4 separate regions of the Homo sapiens genome follow, and all the other regions are linked to region 3. Evidence: promoter capture Hi-C in 16 types of primary human blood cells and fetal thymus (Javierre and others, 2016). All regions are on one chromosome and are shown on one strand. The core of a region is centred on a gene start or on the middle of the fragment in contact, and the rest is flanking DNA. Distances in the headings are between cores, read along the strand shown.

Region 1 (2,797 bases), core at 142-2,641, 350 kb before region 3:
GAGGCACATGAAAGCCGCAAGGTTGTCTTGTTTATCCCCAATGACCGCCTCAGGACCTGGCACAGAGTAAGTGTTCAATAAACATCTCTTGGTTGAATGAATAAATGAGTGAGTGAGTGGAAAACATTATTTTTATCCAATAAACTGTGAAGAGATGTAGCAAGAAAGAAAAGTACAACAGTGTGATATATGTCTGGCACTGCTAGGGAAGAAGGTGTCCACATCACAATTGAAGCTTACTCCTTGGAGAAACAAACTTTTTATTTGGAAGCCTTTTTAATCCAAAAAAAAAGTCTAAAATGCTCTAATACTTTGATGGTAACTTCTAGAACAGCAGAGCAAACAGATGTACAAGAAGATTGCAAATAAACAGCCCCAAGACTGAGCATCTGCCGTCTCCTTGACACAAAAATATCTTATGCCAGAGGCCAGGAGGGAGCCCTGAGACCAACTCTAGACTCCATTGTATTTCTAAAGACTGTGTGACCTTGAGTAAGTTTCTTAACTCTCCTGAGCCTCAGTTTCTTTACCCAAGAACAGGCATAAAAATAGAGTTCAGAGCTCATATTCCAATGAGGTACATTGGCAATCTTAGCAGATGATATTAACATACAAATGCTTAAATAATCTAAATATTATTAATGACATGATTACTACCCAAATCTTTGTATTCATCTTTTCTTTCTCATACTGCTAGTGCTTCCGTCCCAATTCTCCTTTGTGCCTCCAGCTGAACTCCACAATGCCCCCCATGACCTTCAGTGGAAACTTTTTTCTGTTGTAAAGCAACTTCTCTGTCCTTCCATCTTCCACTTCTCCATCTCCTGGCTTCATCTGAAATCAGATTTTATGGCAAGAACACTACTTCTCCCTGGGGTCTTCTCAACATGAAGGGGCTCCTCTCTCACTCCTCTCCCACCACAGGGCCAGGAGTGGGTAGAGACCAGTATTCTTGTGCTTCCATGATGGCACTTTCTCATTCCTACACACCTTTCCCATCATCTTCTTTGAAGCATATGGATGTCATTAGACCATCCACTTCCCCTCCCGCTGGCTGTCAGTTAATGGCCTTGATCAGTTCTTCAGCTCAGTGTTCCCTTTCATTCCTGTTGACATCAGTGTGGACCACTTTGTACCCATGTGGCATAATGCCACTTATTCAGTAGCCTTGTCCCCTTGCATAGTAAATTCCAATCCAACCCAGCCTCTATTTCTAAGTAGGGTCAAAGAACATGCTAAATAACACCACAGGAATGCAATTAACAAAACCCACAAGGTGGGAAACCACAGAACAAATGTCTTGGTTTCTCCAAAGCATAAATTTCAAAGGAAAAGGAAAGGAGATGGGGGCTGGTGGTGAGGAGCTCTCAGATTAAAAGCAAAAAAAAAAAAAACAAGCCAAACAAATGAAGTGTGTGGACCTCTTTCGGATCTTCATTTACACCTTCATCTACATCTTTATATCTTCATTTAAAGAAAAGATGGATGCAAATAATGTTTTTTAAAACAATTTTTTTTAAAGCAAGCAAGAAAATTTGAACACTGGACATTGGGTGATATTAGAGAATTAGTGTTGATTTTTAAATCCATGTGAGGGAAATTGTATGTTTTTAAAAGTTCATATATATATATATATATATATATATATATATATATATATATGTACATATATAGAGAGAGGGAGAAGTACTTATAAACAAAATAATTTAATGTCTAGAAATTGCTTCAAAGTAATCCAGGGGGATAGATGGGAAGAAGTGAGTTGGGTGGTGTAGATGTAACAAGATTGGCCATTAGTCAGTTGAATCCAGATGGTGGATACAAGGGGGATTTTTATATGATTCTCTCCACTTTTGTACTTTCCATAATAAAAAGTGGAGGGAAGCAGGGCATGGTGGCTTATGCCTGTAATCCCAGCTCTTTGGGAGGCTGAGGCAGGAGGATGCTTGAGCCCAGGAGTTCAAGACCAGCCTGGGCAACATAGTGAGACCCCAACTCTATATTTTTTTAAAAAAGAGGGAAAAAGTAGAGGGAAAATCAATGGGAATGACTCATCCATCCTGGTAGCCTTCCAGTCATCGCCCTGCTACCCCACCACTTGAGTTGCACACCCACAGTCACACACTTGGACTTTGGCCCCTGGAGCTGCTCCAGCCCCTCCAGCCCTCCCATTCTCCTGCTCTTTGACCACATTGAGGCCTTTTATCTGAGGGCCTCCCCATACTCTCTCAGTGTCTCAGATACCTTTGGACCTCATCTCCTGTCTCTGGTCTAGACTGCATGGTTCAGCACTTTAACCCCTCTCTGAACCTCTGTCATTGACTCTTGCCCTCTTGTCCTTGCACTGTGCCTAGATGCAAAGCCTGACCCTAAACTAGTCCAACTAGTCACCACTGTCTATTCTTACACCCAAACTGCAGCAGGCCACCTGGTGTGTGCCAATGGAAATCACAGCAGCTTAGTTATCTCCGACTTCAGTGAACCCCAACACTGTGGAACAACCTTGAGTGTACCCCTGTGTCCTCTACTGACTATCTCAAAGCTTCTCCATTCATGTCAAAGCTCACTCATCACTCTCAAAAGGTGACTAGTCTTTCACCAAGAAAAGCAAGACCACCATATTCAAAGTCTGTCAACTTCCTCCATCCCAAATTGCAAAATTCTCCCCACCTACTCCTGCTCTTTCTTGAGTGAATTTTGTTCCGAAGGAAGAGATGACTCAGCTGAACTGTGTTCTGGAAACCCGCCTTTTGAGAGAAGTTGAGGTACCATTTGTTACTCTTCCAGAATCTTCAAC
Region 2 (2,844 bases), core at 184-2,683, 370 kb before region 3:
ATTGCAGTGCCGAAGGAGTGAAATAGACAAAGAAGACTTTAGCGTGAGTCTTGCCTCTGCCTAGACAGCTCTTTCCTTCTCTGCTAATTTCCTATTTTCCCTCTAAGACTTATCCATGGAGTGAGGACTTATTCTCACCTTCCTAGCCCTGTTGGCCAAATCTCATTTAACTTCATTATCACTCTAAATTCAAGGTGGGATTGTAAATTTGATCTTTTAAAAATTTTTTCAGTTACAGCAACATATGGAAGAATGCATAAAATAAATATACAGAATATTGAATCATTACTTTTTGAAAATCTGTGAAACTGCATGCAAATCAGCACTTCCTGAAACCTCATGTGTCTTGTTTCAGCCATACCCTGCTCACATGCTCCTGGAAACAACTACTGTCCTTTCCCTTCTGGTAATCACTTCTTCACTTTTCTTTATAGTTTCACTAGCTTTGTATGCATGCTTAAAAATAAAGTTTAATTTTTCCTGGTGTTGAATTTTATAGAAATAGGGTCATCTTGTGGGTGTTCTCTCTTGTCGTCTTCCTTTCAATCAATGCCATGTTTAAGATTCCAGGATGTTACTGCATTCAGCTGTAGTTTATTTTCTCTTCTGTCTAGATTTCCATTGTGTGTGATACCCCACAATTTATTTATTCTTTCTAAAGTTGATGGCCCAGTTTGGAGCTACAATAAACAATGCTTCTGAAAACATTCGTTTACAAGAATCCTGGCACATGTATGCATGCATTACTCAGGGACACGTATGAGAAAGAATTGCTGACTCACAGAGTATACATGTGTTCAGCTTTAGTAGAAAACGCCACACTGGGCCAGGCACAGTGGCTCACACCTGTAATCCCAGCACTTTGGGAGGCCGAAATGAGAGGACTGCTTCAGCCCAGGAGTTCAAGACCAGCCTGGCCAACATAGTGAGATCCTGTCTCTAAAAATAATAAAAATAAAAAATTAATCAGGCGTGGTGGCATGTGCCTATAGTCCCAGCTGCTTGGGAGTCTAAGGTAGGAGGATCATTTGAGCCCAAGAGTTTGAGCCTTCAGTGAGCTATGATCACACTGCTGGACTCCAGCCTGGGAACAGAGCGAGACTCTGTCTTCAAAAAGATTTTTTAAGACAAACTGTTTTTCAATGGGGTTACCACAGTTTTCTTTCTCACCAGCAATGTATGGGAATTCCTTTTGCTCCATAGCCTTGCCAAAACCCTTGCTTAACCAATGGGCAGAGATGGTATTTTCCGTCTCTATATACCTGGAGCTACAGGATTGACTGGCATGTAGAAGATGCTCTCATTCGTTATTTTATAAAATTCCCTTATGTTTATGAATCATTATAGACTTAGTCCAAGTCTAAAATTTTTCAAGGATCCATCTTAGGGGGATTTATGGTCAAGTGCATGTGAACAACACCAACTCTGGAAATTTTTTTTTTTTGAGATGGAGTTTCACTCCTGTTGCCCAGGCTCGAGTGCAATGGTGCAATCTCAGCTCACCGCAACCTCTACCTCCTGGGTTCAAGCAATTCTCCTGCCTCAGCGCCCTGAGTACCTGGGATTCCAGGCACTTGCCACCACGCCCAGCTAATTTTTTGTATTTTTAGTAGAAACGGGATTTCACCATATTGGCCAGGCTGGTCTTGAACTCCTGACCTCAGGTGACCCACCCACCTCAGCCTCCCGAAGTGCTGGGATTACAGGTGTCAGTCACTATCCCTGCCCTATATTGCTATGTTTCTTATGGAACATATCCTTAAACCCTCACCTCTAATACATAAATAGATGCCTAGTAAATTTTGTAAAATTACAAGTCATTATGTATGGATTTTTGTTAAAAGATGTCAAAGAAGACACATTTGGACACACCCAGCACTGTGTCTTCATACTTTTCTGGAGATCATTTATTTACTAGGAATGAGATGAAGTGAAGGGCTTCATGCACAGAAAGCTGAAACTTATATACACGTGTTCCAGGATTTTTTTTTAATGTCAGTGAAGTTTTGCTAATAAAAATTTCCCCACCTACAAGTGAATGTTTCCCTTAATTCAGATGTTAATTGAGTGTATGAGGTAATGCTCTACTTTTTTTTTTTAATGCCATTTGGTTAGGGTCTCTGTGATAAGGTGGCTTAAAATTCTCATCTTTAAATCTCTTCAAACTTTAAAACTTTTTCCCTTAAACAATGTACATTTGAAAGGTTTCTTCAGATAGAACACAGGTCTATTAGAAAATTGTTTCCCTTTATAAAGAATTTTTAACAAGTTTATAAGAAAAGAGAATATTAGTCATTAGAAAATTTGTGTAAATTGTTGTTAGACTTCAAAAAACAATGTTTGACACACAGAAAGGAAAGAACCCCCCTGGGCTTCATCTCACCCAGTTATCAGTCCCTAACAACTTCATGAAGTCATTTCCTAAATGATGGATAAATCCTTGTTAGAGCGTTATAGTCATCAATCAATAGAACAAAGAAAAGATTAAAACTTTATTCCAAATGATTGCATTTTAGGGCCAAGCACAGTGGCTCACACCTGTAATCTCAGCACTTTGGGAGGCTGAGGCAGGTAGATCACTTGTGGTCAGGAGTTCAAAACCAGCCTGGGCAACATGGTGAAACCTTGTCTCTAAAATTAGTTGGGCATGGGCATGGTGTGCGCCTGTAGTCCCAGCTACTCAGGAGGCTGAGGCAGGAGAATTGCTTGAACCTGGGAGGCGGAGGTTGCCTCCCAGGTTCAGTTGAGATCACGCCACTGCAAACAAGCCTGGCCAACATGGTGAAACCTTGTCTCTAAAATTAGTTGGGCATGGGCATGGTGGTGTGCACCTATAGTCCCAGC
Region 3 (2,700 bases), core at 103-2,602:
GACGGTAGTGTCTTTCTGAAATCATGGTGACTTGCTAGCTCTCCTCATTTCTGTGTACAGCCAGGGCACTCGGGTATTGATAGCGAGATACAGATAAATCTCACAGATAACTCCATCATATTTAGAATCACACAGCTCCTAGTGGGTACCTTATTGCCATTAAAACTTTCCCCCAACTCCTCAACACTCTCTTCGGACCATAAAACTAAAATCCCACAGCTTCAAATCTGCTCCTCTGCCTCCCCCTCCCGCAATTAATCCTTTCGAACTTTTCCCAGGGGATTCACATCTGCCATCAAGATGCTTTCATCCTGCTACTATTCCTAAGTGCCTGCTTCCTCCCAGTTACGTAGGTACTCTCGACCCAGAAAAAAGGCACGGGCGAGGCAGGCGTCCCTCCCTCCCACCCCAGCTTCTCCCCGACCCCCAGCAGGAGCGCCCAGCAGGTGCCTCGCTCCGCACCGCGGCTCCCGGGCCGCTGAGAGGCGGGGCACACAAAGGACCCGCATGGACCTCCCCCCCGGCCTCCTAGCGTCTTCCCCCACCCCCCACAGCCCGGCGCCCCGGGTAGCTGGAGAGCGAGGGCGGCGGCCGCAGGCTCGACGGAGACCAGGGACGCTCGCCCCGGTCGCCCCCTCCCTGACCCCAACCCCGCCCACGTCCCACCCACGAAGGCTGCCCAGAACGTAAACCCTCGCCCGGCAAAACCGAAAACGCATCCCCAGCCCGGCTGCCCGGGCCCTGCGCATCCAGCCCGCAGCCTCCCACGCCGCGCCCGCCAGCCGGCGCCCAACGGCCGCCCCCGACCGCCTCCCACGGCACCCGGCTCTTTCCCAGCCCCGGAAGGGTCCCGGTCCCGCCGCCCGCTCCCCCACCTCCCGGGAAGGGCCCGACACCCGCCCGGCCGCCCCGCACTCACAGGCTGCCGGAGCAGGAGGTACACACGAAGGAGCCGACCGTCATGTTAACGTAGGTGGGGCCGCGCTGGTCGCAGTCGAAGCACTTTCGGTTGTGCGGGAGGCCGGTCATGTCCCGCAGCATCTTCAGGTGCTTCTCCTCCTGCTTCCGCTTCGCGCTGGCCGCCATGGCCGCGGCGCCAAGGGAGGAGGCCGGCAGGGCCGGGAGCCGGGCAGCGCTGCGCCGGGGGCCCGCGGTCCCACGGGCCGCCCTGGCCGCGGCCGCCGCCCTCCGTCTGCGCGCGCCGCCCGCGCCGGACCCGGCCGCAGCGGCTTGGCTGTACTGGGCTCGACGCGGCCCGGGCGCTGTGGTACGCGGGCTGACGGGCCACACCAACCGGCACAGCCGGGACAACCGCCGCCGCCGCCGCCACCTTCCCGACTTCTCCTGAGGGGAAAAGACGAGGAAGGGGACGGCAAGAGGAGGCCCGCCCTGGGCGGCCGGTAGCCAAGTGTCCGCTGGCGCCCTCTGCTGGCCAGGAGGAGTCACTGCGGCCTCGCTGAGGCATGGGCCGGGTCTGGAGCCAAGTAGGGTAGACACAATGGTGATAATAATATTAATAATAGACAGTATTTATTGAGCGCTTATATATGCAAAGCGTTTCACATGGGTTACCTTCCCCTTCTGTTTAAAACTCTTCAAGGGCTTTCCACTGCTTTGAGTATAATTCCAAATTCCTCACCGTGCCGTAAAAAGTGCTCCATAGTCTAGCCCAGTCTACCTCATTCTTCGTCGTCCTCACTCAGCCACACTGGATTTTGAGTTTTCTGAACACAGCAAGCTCCTTTCTGACTCCTGCAGGACCTTTGCCCTTGCTCTTCTCTCTTTATCTTTGGGCCAGCTAATTTGGGGGGGCTTGGGGTGTCCTGTGCACTGTAGGATACTGGGCGGCGTTCCTAGCCTATACCCACTAGATACAAGAACAAACCCCCCAATTCCCATTGCTGGCAACCAAAAATCCCCAGACATTGCCAAAAGTGGAGGGAACTTTAGGGCGGTGCAGTCACCTGGCTTGAGAACTGCTGCGTGTGGAAACCCGGATCATCCATAGCTGACATCCTCTAAGTCAGGTGGGGCTCAGATGTCACCTCCCCCGCCAGACTGTCCCAGATCAGCCGAGTTAATGTTGCAGCTCACCTTTCTCGAAGTTGCTCTCCATCAAATTGCTGCGTTGTATTTTCGTCTCAGTTCTAGCTATTTGAAATACTGCATCTTATTTCGTGTTTACCATGGGTGATCTGGACTCTCCCTTTAGGCGCTAAACAGCCTGGCCCCCGTATTTTCTGTGCCACTCCACCCCATTCCCCTCGCAGAGCTGGAGACTAGGTGTTCAATGTTGACGGAATGAATACATGAAATCGTTCATGTAATCTTCACAACAACCCTTCGAGGTGAGCGTTATTGTTATTTACATTTTACAAAACAGGAAGATGAAACCCTGAGGGATTAAGTAAATTTACCCAAGGGTACCTATGGCGAAGCTCAATTCCAACCCAGACAGCCAGACTGCAGGACCCAAATCCCCACTGCAACAATCAACTTCGTCTCTCGTTTTCCAAAGGAGTACAGGGAGACCCAGAGAGCTGAAGTTCTCAAATCACTGGGCTGTTGAATGGATTAGAATCTACGTTTCCTAACAGCCAAGACCAACCTCCACATCTCTCATGAAAGGGATTGGGTGAATCAACAAAGTGAGACTTCATATTAATATAATACTACTAATAATAATTAATGTTTTTAATA
Region 4 (2,700 bases), core at 168-2,667, 330 kb before region 3:
ACCAATTTTTGAATAAACATTTGGACACCCACCTGAGTTGATGATCAAAGAAAGTTCACTCCTTTTTTCACCTACTGAGAGTTCATTACATTCATATTTCGTTTCCCTGTAGAAAGAACAATTGACATAAAATTCAGCTAATTCCTCTATTCATTGTTTATCCTGTTTGGGAGGCTTTTCAAGTTCCCCAGGTTTCTCACCTCCTTGCTTCCTATTTAAGGTCACAGCAGAGGAGCCTCTATTAACATGTGTGAAGAAATCAGCAGAGTTTTTATAGGATTTACACTGGTAACTCGCAGAGCAAAATATTTCAAAGTTTTTTATACAGGACCCATGGAACATCACCCTTCCAGAAGCCAGCAAGGTAAGGCTATCAAAAGGTTTGAAGATGGCCTAACAGGGCTAAGGAATGGAGAAGAGGATGGGCCTTCTCTGCCTTGTCATCTTCAGGAGAAGAAGTGCATTTGATGTGCTAACATCTAAGCCAGTGGTGGGCTTATCCAGAAACAGAACAGTTATAGCTCTCATCACCTCCATTGCAATGCTGGGCTTCTTTCTCTGTCCTCCAGACACACCCCAAATGACCTGGTTTTCTACATTGGAGTCTGCTAATTTTGCTGAAGGCCACCTCTTGAATGGTTTTGTTAATGTGTGTTTGTTTTTTTGTTTTTGTTTTTTTGTTTGTTTCTTGCCTGACTGTTTATACTTGTTGACAGCCGAAGGGCTGCTGAAAATTTTTTCCTTAACCATCGCTCCCATCGCTATACCATCTGAGACTACATAATCTGAGATACCTTTTTTGTTGTTGTTGTTGTTGAGATAGCGTCTCAATCTGTCGCCCAGGCTGGAGTGCAGTGGTGTGATCTTGGCTCACTGCAACTTCCACCTCTTGGGTGCAAGTGATCTTGTCAGCCTCCCCAGTAGCTGGGACTACAAGCACACACCACCACCCCTGGCTAATTTTTGCATTTTTAGTAGAGACGGGGTTTCACTGTATTGCCCACGCTGGTTTCGAACTCCCAGCCTCAAGCAATCCCCTGGCCTCAGCCTCTCAAAGTGTTAGGATTACAGGCATAAGCCATTGCGCCCAGTCTTGAGATACTTTTGAAGTTCCAGGTTGCAGGGTTTCATTTAGCAAAACATCTGCAGAGAGACCACAGGAATCCTTCCTTGCCTCCACCAGAGGGTCCCAGGATAGTATTAAAACCAGGTTTTATTACCCATTGACAACCTTCAATATCTCCTTCTCAACTGTTTTTTAACCAACCAGAAGCCACTCTTTACCTTCATTTAATAGTAAATACTGTGAAAACACAGGTACATCAGATAATGTCCCTAAGTTTTTGGAGGGCCCAGCAGGTAGACCATTAACACTGGTTGTTGTTGTTGTTGTTTTTAAGTGATGGGGCCTGGCTACCTTGGCCAAGTTGGTCTTCAACTCCTGGCTTCAAGCAATCCTCCCAACTCAGCCTCCTAAAGTGAGGGCATTACAGGTGTGAGCCACAGCACCCAGCCTGTCAGTGCTTGTTTTTGATCTTGGGAAAATAAAAACGTTTTTTGCAGACATGTAGAAATTGTTTTTTTCCACTGTGCTGCCATGGGATGAAATTAACTTTTCACATAGAACCCTAAATTGAATTCTGATTTATGAAACTGCTAGGGCCACTTCTTTTCTGCTATGGAAAATAATCTCTGCTTAGTCTTCAATGTTAGAACATTTACATGCATACATTCACACACAACTATACACACAAAGTACAAACTATGGTCAGGGAGGAAAAAGGACATGAACTATTATCACTCAAATAACGACTCATTTACATGAACCCTACTGTTCACTGAAGAGGAAGGATAGAAATTCACTCATTCATTCAATAAAGATCCATTGTGCACCTAATTTTTTTTTTTTTTTTTTTTTGACGGTATCTCACTCTGTCGCCCAGGCTGGAGTGCAATAGCATGACCTCCCTCACTGCAACTTCCGCCTCCCAGGTTCAAGCAATTCTCCTGCCTCAGCATCCTGAGGAACTGGGATTACAGTTGCATGCCACCACACAGGCTAATTTTTGTATTTTTAGTAGAGACGGGGTTTCACCACGTGGGCCAGGCTGGAATGCACCTAGTTTATGTTAGAGACTGTTCATGTCACGAAGAATAAAGTGCTAAGTAAAACAGTCTCTACCGTCATACAACTTAGATTATTAGTAGACGAGTGCCCATTGGTTGACGACAAAGTAACAAATCAGAGAGAGAGAGAGAGAGAAAGAAAGAGAGAATGAGAAAGAGTAGAAGAAACACACAAGAAACTAACTAATTAACATATAAGTAAGTTAATATCATGTGGTGGAAGTGTTATGAAGCCAAATTAAGCAGGATAATGGGAAGAGAGTGTCCACGGGTGTCATCTGAGATAAAGTGATCAGGAAAACCTCTCTATGGAGAAAACATCGACCAGGGACCTGTATGAAGTAAGGGATGGAGCCGTGCAGACATCTGGAGAAAGAGCATCCAAAGCGGAGAGAAAAAGGCAGGCTGCAGTGGCTCATATCTGTAATTCCAGCACTTTCGGAGGCCAAGGCTGCCGGATCACTTGAGGCCAGGAGTTCAAGACCAGCCTGGACAAAGTGGTGAAACCCCATCTCTACTAAAATTACAAAAATCAGCCAGGCGTGGTGGCGCATGCCTGTAATCCCAATCACT

Evidence for each region. The method cuts DNA at HindIII sites, captures the fragments that hold promoters and counts their contacts. A CHiCAGO score of 5 or more calls a contact.
Region 1: a fragment that was not itself captured here is called in contact with the fragment with the promoter of AGFG1 in region 3 in 2 of 17 cell types (M2 macrophages and monocytes); the score reaches 6.8 in M2 macrophages.
Region 2: a fragment that was not itself captured here is called in contact with the fragment with the promoter of AGFG1 in region 3 in 1 of 17 cell types (M2 macrophages); the score reaches 5.4 in M2 macrophages.
Region 4: a fragment that was not itself captured here is called in contact with the fragment with the promoter of AGFG1 in region 3 in 1 of 17 cell types (M1 macrophages); the score reaches 5.4 in M1 macrophages.

Annotation. Positions count from the first base shown.
Region 1 is chr2:227,821,065-227,823,861 of GRCh38, reverse strand. No RefSeq gene overlaps it. Among named protein-coding and RNA genes, the nearest start is that of CCL20, 8.6 kb to the right of the region's middle. The HindIII fragment of the contact is 2,307 bases long and covers 238-2,544 here.
Region 2 is chr2:227,844,564-227,847,407 of GRCh38, reverse strand. No RefSeq gene overlaps it. Among named protein-coding and RNA genes, the nearest start is that of DAW1, 26 kb to the left of the region's middle. The HindIII fragment of the contact is 8,455 bases long and covers 1-2,844 here.
Region 3 is chr2:227,470,808-227,473,507 of GRCh38, reverse strand. It overlaps AGFG1 (ArfGAP with FG repeats 1), which reads right to left and starts at 1,352. Exons shown (of 13, transcript NM_004504.5): 1 at 920-1,352. The coding sequence starts at 1,086. It overlaps MIR5703 (microRNA 5703), which reads right to left and starts at 1,376; the gene lies at 1,321-1,376. It overlaps LOC124907994 (a long non-coding RNA gene), which reads left to right and starts at 1,409. Exons shown (of 2, transcript XR_007088114.1): 1 at 1,409-2,348; 2 at 2,519-2,700. RefSeq lists a silencer at 644-1,363 and an enhancer at 1,476-2,439. The HindIII fragment of the contact is 6,204 bases long and covers 1-2,700 here.
Region 4 is chr2:227,800,561-227,803,260 of GRCh38, reverse strand. It overlaps the pseudogene LOC100533842. Among named protein-coding and RNA genes, the nearest start is that of CCL20, 12 kb to the left of the region's middle. The HindIII fragment of the contact is 5,314 bases long and covers 1-2,700 here.